Linked DNA regions of Homo sapiens: region 2 is linked to region 1. The links are contacts of gene promoters, found by promoter capture Hi-C in human tissues and cell types (Jung and others, 2019). All regions are on one chromosome and are shown on one strand. Each heading gives the region's core, a stretch centred on a gene start or on the middle of the fragment in contact. The rest is flanking DNA. Distances are from core to core; before and after follow the strand shown. Region 1 holds the start of CLEC7A (C-type lectin domain containing 7A). Region 2 holds the start of CLEC12B (C-type lectin domain family 12 member B).

What was found. The method cuts DNA at HindIII sites, captures the fragments that hold promoters and counts their contacts. A contact is called where the count stands out against the background at its distance.
Region 2: a contact is called between the fragment with the promoter of CLEC12B here and the fragment with the promoter of CLEC7A in region 1, in 3 of the 25 tissues and cell types used here (hippocampus, lymphoblastoid cells and thymus).

Annotation. Positions count from the first base shown.
Region 1 is chr12:10,127,922-10,131,880 of GRCh38, forward strand. It overlaps CLEC7A (C-type lectin domain containing 7A), which reads right to left and starts at 2,278. Exons shown (of 6, transcript NM_197947.3): 1 at 2,059-2,278. The coding sequence starts at 2,161. LOC105369655 (a long non-coding RNA gene) reads left to right here. Exons shown (of 4, transcript XR_007063208.1): 2 at 3,160-3,319; 3 at 3,764-3,871. The HindIII fragment of the contact is 18,210 bases long and covers 1-3,959 here.
Region 2 is chr12:10,008,318-10,012,276 of GRCh38, forward strand. CLEC12B (C-type lectin domain family 12 member B) reads left to right here and starts at 2,310. Exons shown (of 6, transcript NM_001129998.3): 1 at 2,310-2,533. The coding sequence starts at 2,443. The HindIII fragment of the contact is 4,454 bases long and covers 1,020-3,959 here.

The sequences.
Region 1 (3,959 bases), core at 1,028-3,527:
ATCAAAAATCTGGCCTTGCACGGTGGCTCACACCTGTAATCCCAGAAGGGAGACTGAGGTAGGAGGATTGCTTGAGGCCAGAAGCTCAAGACCAGCCTGGGCAACACAGGGAGACCCTGTCCCTACCAAAAAAAAAAAAGAAAAACAAAGAAAGAAAAAAAATTTAATTAGCTGGGCATTGTGGTGAGCTCCCGTAGTCCCAGCTACTCTGGAGGCTGTGGCAGGAGGATCACTTGAGCCTAGGAATTCCAGAGCAGCATAGGCAAAAAAGTGATACCCTGTTAAAACACACACACACACACACACACACACACACACACACACACCACCAACAACAACAACAAAAAATACTGGCAAATTTTTAAGTGAATTATTAATCACTGCCTAGGTTACCTGGTCACCTAGGATTTGCTGTGCTTCTCCACCAGTAAGGATACCTTCTTCTTCAATTGCTGGAATTGTAATTTCGGCACATTGGCTTGATAACTGTATGCTCCTAATTTCAGTTCCACATTGACATCTACAGGTCTTGACATTAGTAGGATCCCTGAAATCCCACTGATTCTTAGAGGAAATAGCTTAATGTTGGGGAGATAGCACTGATTACTAAGGGTAATTTTCCCTTTTCATATGTTTGTTGCATGACCCTGGGCAAATTACTCCCTTTGTTGTTTTTTATTCCTCTTTGTGAAACTGGGGTAATAATATCTCAAAGGATTATTGCGGGAATTAAACGAGCTAACACATATAAAAGCACCTTGTTTAGAGACTGCTAGCACATGATAGGTGTGTTGTTGCAGGATACCGTTTGCCTACACATATGCATAAACATGCGCATGTCTCCCTACCTCTTGCCTCATCCACTTTTTCCACGCTTCCTCAATAGGTTGCCCAAGAAAAGAATTACATCAGTGCTGAGAGGAAAATATTTGTGCAGTGTGAATAACCAGAAAGCAGAAGAAAGCAAACTCTGGTGTCAAAACCGACAAATGATCTCTCTCTCTCAAAGATAATAGGGAACTAATTTTGTATGAACATTGCCATAACCAGAATGTATTTCTGCTTTCCACTGTGACTAAGCTGTCAGGACATTTCATAGAATTGTCACATAGGAGAATCGTAGAGTAGGCTAAATCACCCATTCTATGAATACAGAGATCCTCCAATGCCCTTCTTTCTATTTCATTTCATTTACACTTTGTTTAAGACTCATGTCCTGCTGGTGGGATGTTTTTATCTACCATATGTTCATATATTTTCCATCACTGGTATACCAATAATTGTTTTTTGTTTAAAAACAATTTAAATTAATCTCTTACCACAAAAAAAAAATGTTGTTCATATATATACTTCTTTAAGTTTCCTGGCCTCCATTCGATAATCTAGCCTTTCTATCAAACAAGCAACAAGTCACTCATACAGAAATCCTTTATCTTTGTGTATTATCCCACTTATTACCAATTCCTCACTGATGAAATGTCTATATCTATAGAAAAGAGAAATTCTATTTTCTGCCATCAGACATAATTAATTTAAACACTAATAATTGGTCACTGAATAATTTTCATGAAAAAAGGTTTAGGGTGCATTCAATTTATCTTCAGTGACATCTGAAGCCTTTAAAAGTATATCCATAAAAATATACACATCACGAGGCTCTCAAATTTTCTCCCCTTATATCTTTTTGTTTTGTTTTTATTTTTATTTTTTTTCAGAGATGGAGTCTTGCTCTGCCACCCAGGCTGGAGTGCATTGGCATGATCTTGGCTCACTGCAACCTCCACCTCCCAGGTTCAAGTGATTCTCCTGCCTCAGCCTCCCAAGTACCTGGAACTACAGGCGTGCACCACCATGCCCGGCTAATTTTTGTATTTTTAGTAGAGACAGAGTTTCACCACGTTAGCCAAGCTGGCCTCGAACTCCTGACCTCAGTCAATCCACCCGCCTCGGCCTCCCAAAGTGCTGGGATTACAGGTGTGAGCCACCATGCCTAGCCTCCCCTTATATCTTTTCAAACGGGAGAGCTAAAGGCACACATTAGAAAAAACATATATATACCTTTCTCTGAAACAACAGCTATCCTGGTATTGCTTTGAGAGTCGAAGTGTAATTGAGTATATCCATCTTCATCCAAATTTTCTAAATCAGGATGATATTCCATTGTTCTTGAGAGCCCCTGAATAGATATAGCATTTGGGAGCTCTTTTCTTTCTGCTCCTGAGATGACTGTCTGTGGACAAAAGAGAATCTCTGAGTCAAATCATGTGGGCTAGGTACTTACCGGAGTTTAACAAATTAAGCTTAAGTAGTTCAACCAGATATTCAAGAGCAGGAAATGAAACTATGCTGTGGTAATTTTCCATTTGTACCTTTAGATCCTGTTTCTGAGACTGCTGACTCAGGAAAACTAAAAGGCAGCATAGCAGATGAGTCTTTGTTTCAGACCAAATGTAAGAAAAATGCATACATTAATGTCTTATGCTGCCTTCATTACTCTCACAACTAAGTCTGACATTAATTAATTTAACCGATGCAAACTATTTCAGTTTTGGTGCTCCAAGTTTACCATAACTTTGTTCATGTATTTATTCATGTATTTTTTAAATTACATAAACAGGTACTGGATGCCCACCTTTTCAATTGGTAGGAGCTTACAATACAAGGAAAAATGATACCTATGAAGAAACTCATTGCTTAATAAAGGAAATATATAGATAGGTAAATGAGGGATGGCATGAGGAGATGCATTGTTGTAACAACAGACAGAGAAAACAAATCTCTTTGGGAATTATCAGATATTAACACAAAATAACATTTATTGAACAATTACTATGAGCTAAGTACCACATGTTGTACATATTTTCTTGTTCAATCTCACTTTTCCAAGTCTATATAGTAGGCATTATTATTTCTATTTTCAAATGAAAAAATGAGACAGAAAATTTAGCCTCTTTCTCAGGTTTAAGAAGCTAATTTTAAAAATTTAGAGCAAGGAATCAAATCAAAGCTGACTCTTGCTGCAAAACTCGTGGTCTTTTCTGTTACGCTACACTGCCTCTTTCATCATTCCATACACTTATATTGCAAGGAACAGCTTATGGAAGGTGTTGGGACTGAAATATTATGTTAGATGTTTGATTTTTTTTCCCTCTCTTCCAGTTTCCATAGTAATGATCAAATCAAAGAAATATAGAAAACACCTAACATTGCTGGAAACTGAAGAGGTGTTCAACTCATTTATCCGACCTTGAAGCCAGTAGAGTGCAGGAGACATCTGAGTGTTGTCAAGGATCAACAAATCTGGATACTAGTTAATGTGGTGAGGACAGGTTTTATTCAGTAATACTATTGCAACAGGAACCAGTGCAGCATTAACTGAACTCAACTTCCCCAAAAGTAAAGCTGATGACATTTTAAAGTGGAGTTTGCTAAGGAAAAGATACTGAGTGGTGTTAAGGAAAGTTAATGTGACTAGACTCTCTGGATTTGTTAATTGGCCCTTATCCAGAGGACAGAGAAACTTTGCCTATCTATATGACAGAAGGACATGGTGATAGTTGAAGTGAAGCACCCAGCTAAGTTGGTCCTTATGCTGCATCTGAAAGAAAGAGCAAGATTTATCTCCCTGAATGTTTGCATTTCAAAGAAACAGCTCCCAAGTCCTTGAAGAAACAGTTCTGTGTGGTAGATTTGCTTCTCAAAGGGCAGAGAAAGAATTTAACTGTAAGATTTATTTTTCTTTTCTTTCTTTTTTTTTTTTTAGACGAAATTTCGCTCTTGTTGCCCAGGCTGGTGTGCAAATGGCACGATCTCGGCTCACCACAACCTCCGCCTCCCGGGTTCAAGCGATTCTCCTGCCTCAGCCTCCTGAGTAAGCTGGGATTACAGGCATGTGCCACCACGCCAGGCTAATTTTGTATTTTTAGTAGAGACAGCATTTCTCCATGTTGGTCAGGCTG
Region 2 (3,959 bases), core at 1,060-3,559, 120 kb before region 1:
CTAGGATCATCTAGTGGGTGACTGATTTTTGTGTGTGAGCAACTGATTTCTGAGTGTGGGTAAGGTTATTGGAGGCAAATTCAAGAACTGAGAGCCCATAGTATTGGAATTATCACCTACCTGAATGTCGAAATCACATGATAATCATGATAGGAGTAGAGATCAATAAGATTTAAGATAGTTGAAAAAATAATGAAGAAATAAGGAGAATTTGGTAAATGACTGCAACAAAGTGAGTTTTTAAATAGTGTAACTGATAAAATAAGCTACAGAAATGCTGTAAGTTTTTAAGGGAGAAAAGTATATAAAGAAATGTCTAAATTAATATGATCATACACTAATAATGATAGATGATATAGCTTTTTGGATCATAATAATAGAAAGTATGTGAGAAGTGTTATCAATCTTCTCTTAGAAATAATTAGGAATCAGGTGACATTCTTCATCATTGTTCAAGCTAAGCATCATTTCATGGATAGTGAGAAGTTAATACTTTGTTAGGAAGCTTTAAGGTATGTGAAAGAATTAAGGAAATGAGGATGAAAACCCAGTTTTTGCAAAATCTGGTGAAAGTCATGAGACGTGAGGCCAGCCAGACTTCCTGAATCGAGTGGGGACTCAGGGAACTTTCCTGTCTTACAAGAGGATTGTAAAACGCACCAATCAGTGCCACGTAAAACGCACCGATCAGCGCTCTGTAAAACGCACCAATCAGCAGGATTCTAAAAGTAGCCAATTGCGGTGAGGATTGAAAAAAGGTCAGTCTGATACGACAGAAACGGAACATGGAGGGGACAGTAAGGAAATAAAAGCTAGCCACCCCAGCCAGCAGCAGCAACCCGCTTGGGACCCCTTCCATGCTGTGGAAGGTTTGTCATCCTGCTCTTCACAATAAACCTTGCTACCACTCAGTCTTTGGGTCCGTGCCATCTTTAAGAGGTGTAACCCTCACCGCAAAGGTCCGCGGCTTCATTTTTGAAGTCAGCGAGACCAGGAACCCACCGGCAGGAACCAACTCCGGACACGGACCAGAACAGAGATAGAAAACCATTCTTAATTTCTTATTTTTGTAATCATCTATTTAAACTGGTCCTCATGTCAATGGTCTCTGCCTTTTCTGAATTCAACTAGAATAGTAAACATAAGCATAGATTTATTATTTGTTTCAATATTTTTGATAGTGGAGTTTTATTGATATATGACTTAGAGCCTCCAAACATTTTTTTGATTATTTCATCAATTTGAAAAAAAAAAAAACAAAAAACATGAACAAGTAACATATGTATATTTAGGTGTTTAGAGATCATGCACAGCGTTCCTAAAGAGAAAGTTTTTACATTGCCTTTCTGCATCTGCTTCACAGCTGTGGGGTGAGTGCACCTCACGCTGGACACCTTTGACTAAGATAATCTCCACACAGATATGAACCTTGGAAGTTTTAGATCACTCCCCACTCATCTGAAACCACAAAACTCATACCCAATCCTTCCCCTAAGTACAGTTATCTAATATTCTGCCTCTCCCCAAAGGAAAGCTTTAGAGGAGATTCCTTAATTTCGTCCCTCATATATAGCGCTCCCCCCCCATATTTTCCTGGGTTCTGTATTAACTACATATTGCTGCTGTAACAAATTACCACAGATGTATTAACTTCCGGTAGTTATCTTTTTAAAATCTTGTCCTGTGTATTCCTTGCTGTCTGCAGGATTATCCCATGGTTGTTGTTCTGTTAGGAACTTTCCCAACCATGCCAGAAGAGGGCACTCCCATTCATACTCACGTTAAGTAGCTAAGTAGCTATCAGTTTCTTCTCCATGCTCCATTACCAACACCATGTCTCTCTCTCTCTGTCTCTCTCTCTCTGTCTCTCTCTGTCTCTCTCTCACACACACACACACACACACACACACACACACACACGCTTGAATTTTCTATAATAGCAGCCAGGTGTGTGGCACAGCTCTTTCTGTCTTAATGTGTGTCTCTCTGCTTAATATCTAATGTGGCTGAGAATAAACTAGAACCAATGTCTCCAGGCAGATTAGCTAGCCTTAGATAGATGTAAAGAAGACAACCTGACTCTTTTCTGAAACATTCAGAGCATCCTCTACCCCGAGGATCATGGGAATTCCCTCATGTTCCTCCTGCTCTGCCTCAAGCACCCCTTCTTTGCTGCACAGCAAGAAACAGTTCTGACAGAGCAGACAGTTTGAGATCTGTAACATTCTAATGAGAATATCTCTAAGGAGAATATTTGGCTTTTCTCACTTTCTCTGTAGAGAAACAAATTGTCATTCTTCTCTTACAGAGGGGCAGTAGAGTGTGTCTGGGTCAGCTGAGTGACTACATCAAAGCTCCCAGCCTTGAAAAACACATGCTGTTCCCAGGCCTCAAGATATTGAAACATTAATTAGATAATTTAAAGTAGCGTTTTCTTCTACAATGTCTGAAGAAGTGACCTACGCGACACTCACATTTCAGGATTCTGCTGGAGCAAGGAATAACCGAGATGGAAATAACCTAAGAAAAAGAGGTAGGAGTTCAGAGAAGACCAGCTGTGTCCTTGGGGGAGTGGACAGGTGTTAAATGCTTTGAGGTGCCAGCTTTAATACTGGCGTTAAAGACATGTGCTGTGAAATCTCCAAAATGGGGACAAATAGTTGTGGAATGTATTAGAAAAGTGAGTGTTCCCAAGGTTGAAGTGAAAATATGTGGCTTTCAGAACCTCTTTAAAGTTGTGTGATATCACACAGTCAGAGAAATTCTGACTGCACATGCCAGAAATTGAGCTTGGGGAATTAGAGATTTCTTCTTATGAATATAATCCTTGATATTTATACCTTGTTAGAGATGCCAGGAGGATATTCTTTCAGAAACCAGATTGGAGGCTTCTAAAATAGAGAAGGTAGAGGACGTTTTTCTTTTAGATGATGTAAGTTACTTAAGAGAAAACTGGAAGATGAGTGAGTGGATTAGAAATAGATCAGAGCTAATTTTTCTTTTGTCAGTATTTTTTCAAATTTTAGGGTAGTTGAAATCCGAGCATAATTTGTAATGTTGAACCAGTAATAATAGTATCTGGGTAGTATTTTATGTACATTATATACAGATATAATTGTAATGAAAATCCACAATAATATTCGAATATTAGTATTTTCTCCATTACATAGATGAAAAAACTGAGGGTGAGAGAAATTAGATAATTTAAGCAAGCTCACACAACTGCTATGTGGGGAAGCCCAGTCTCAGTGCTGGTCTTCAGCTCATTCTCTTATGCCTAATTGGAAAAATAGCAGTCTCCATGGTCAAGACTCTGATTTAATATATAAGACCACATCTCTTATTTTCAGATATGTTAACTATCCAGGTTCTCCTGAATCATGTCAGTCATCTGAACTACTTTCTCCTGCCCTCTAGATTTATCTTTACATTTTGTGTGGTGCATGACATTTGAGGGAAGGATATTTACAAAAAGCCGATGGGAATAGACTTTGCATATGTCTAATAAATGTGGTTACACATTTTTGCCTTGTTTTGTTTTACTTTTTAATTCTAATTCTAACCTGTGAGGAAAAAGGAGGTGTGGATATGGTGCATATCACAGTGTACCTAGAGTCTGTCATGCTGTATCTAAAACATTGCGCTAGATGTTATTTGGACCTAAATCAAGGGATATGAAGCTAAGGAAAACATGACAACCATTGATATTTTAAACAACAACAATGACTAGGATGCTAACGGCTTTCTGGTCTATTCTGCTGTTTGTAGGTTAGACTGCACATTCTTTCCTTCTTTCATTCAGTATTCATTCATTATTTATTAGGTGATAAATAGCATGAATAATAGATAAGTTATTGTTAACAGGTAAAAGATACTTTAAAAAGTCGAATCCACTTTTACAAGGCAGATAGAACATGTGCCTTATAGAGACTTTTGAGCTCAAAAGCTTGAGGTGTCTC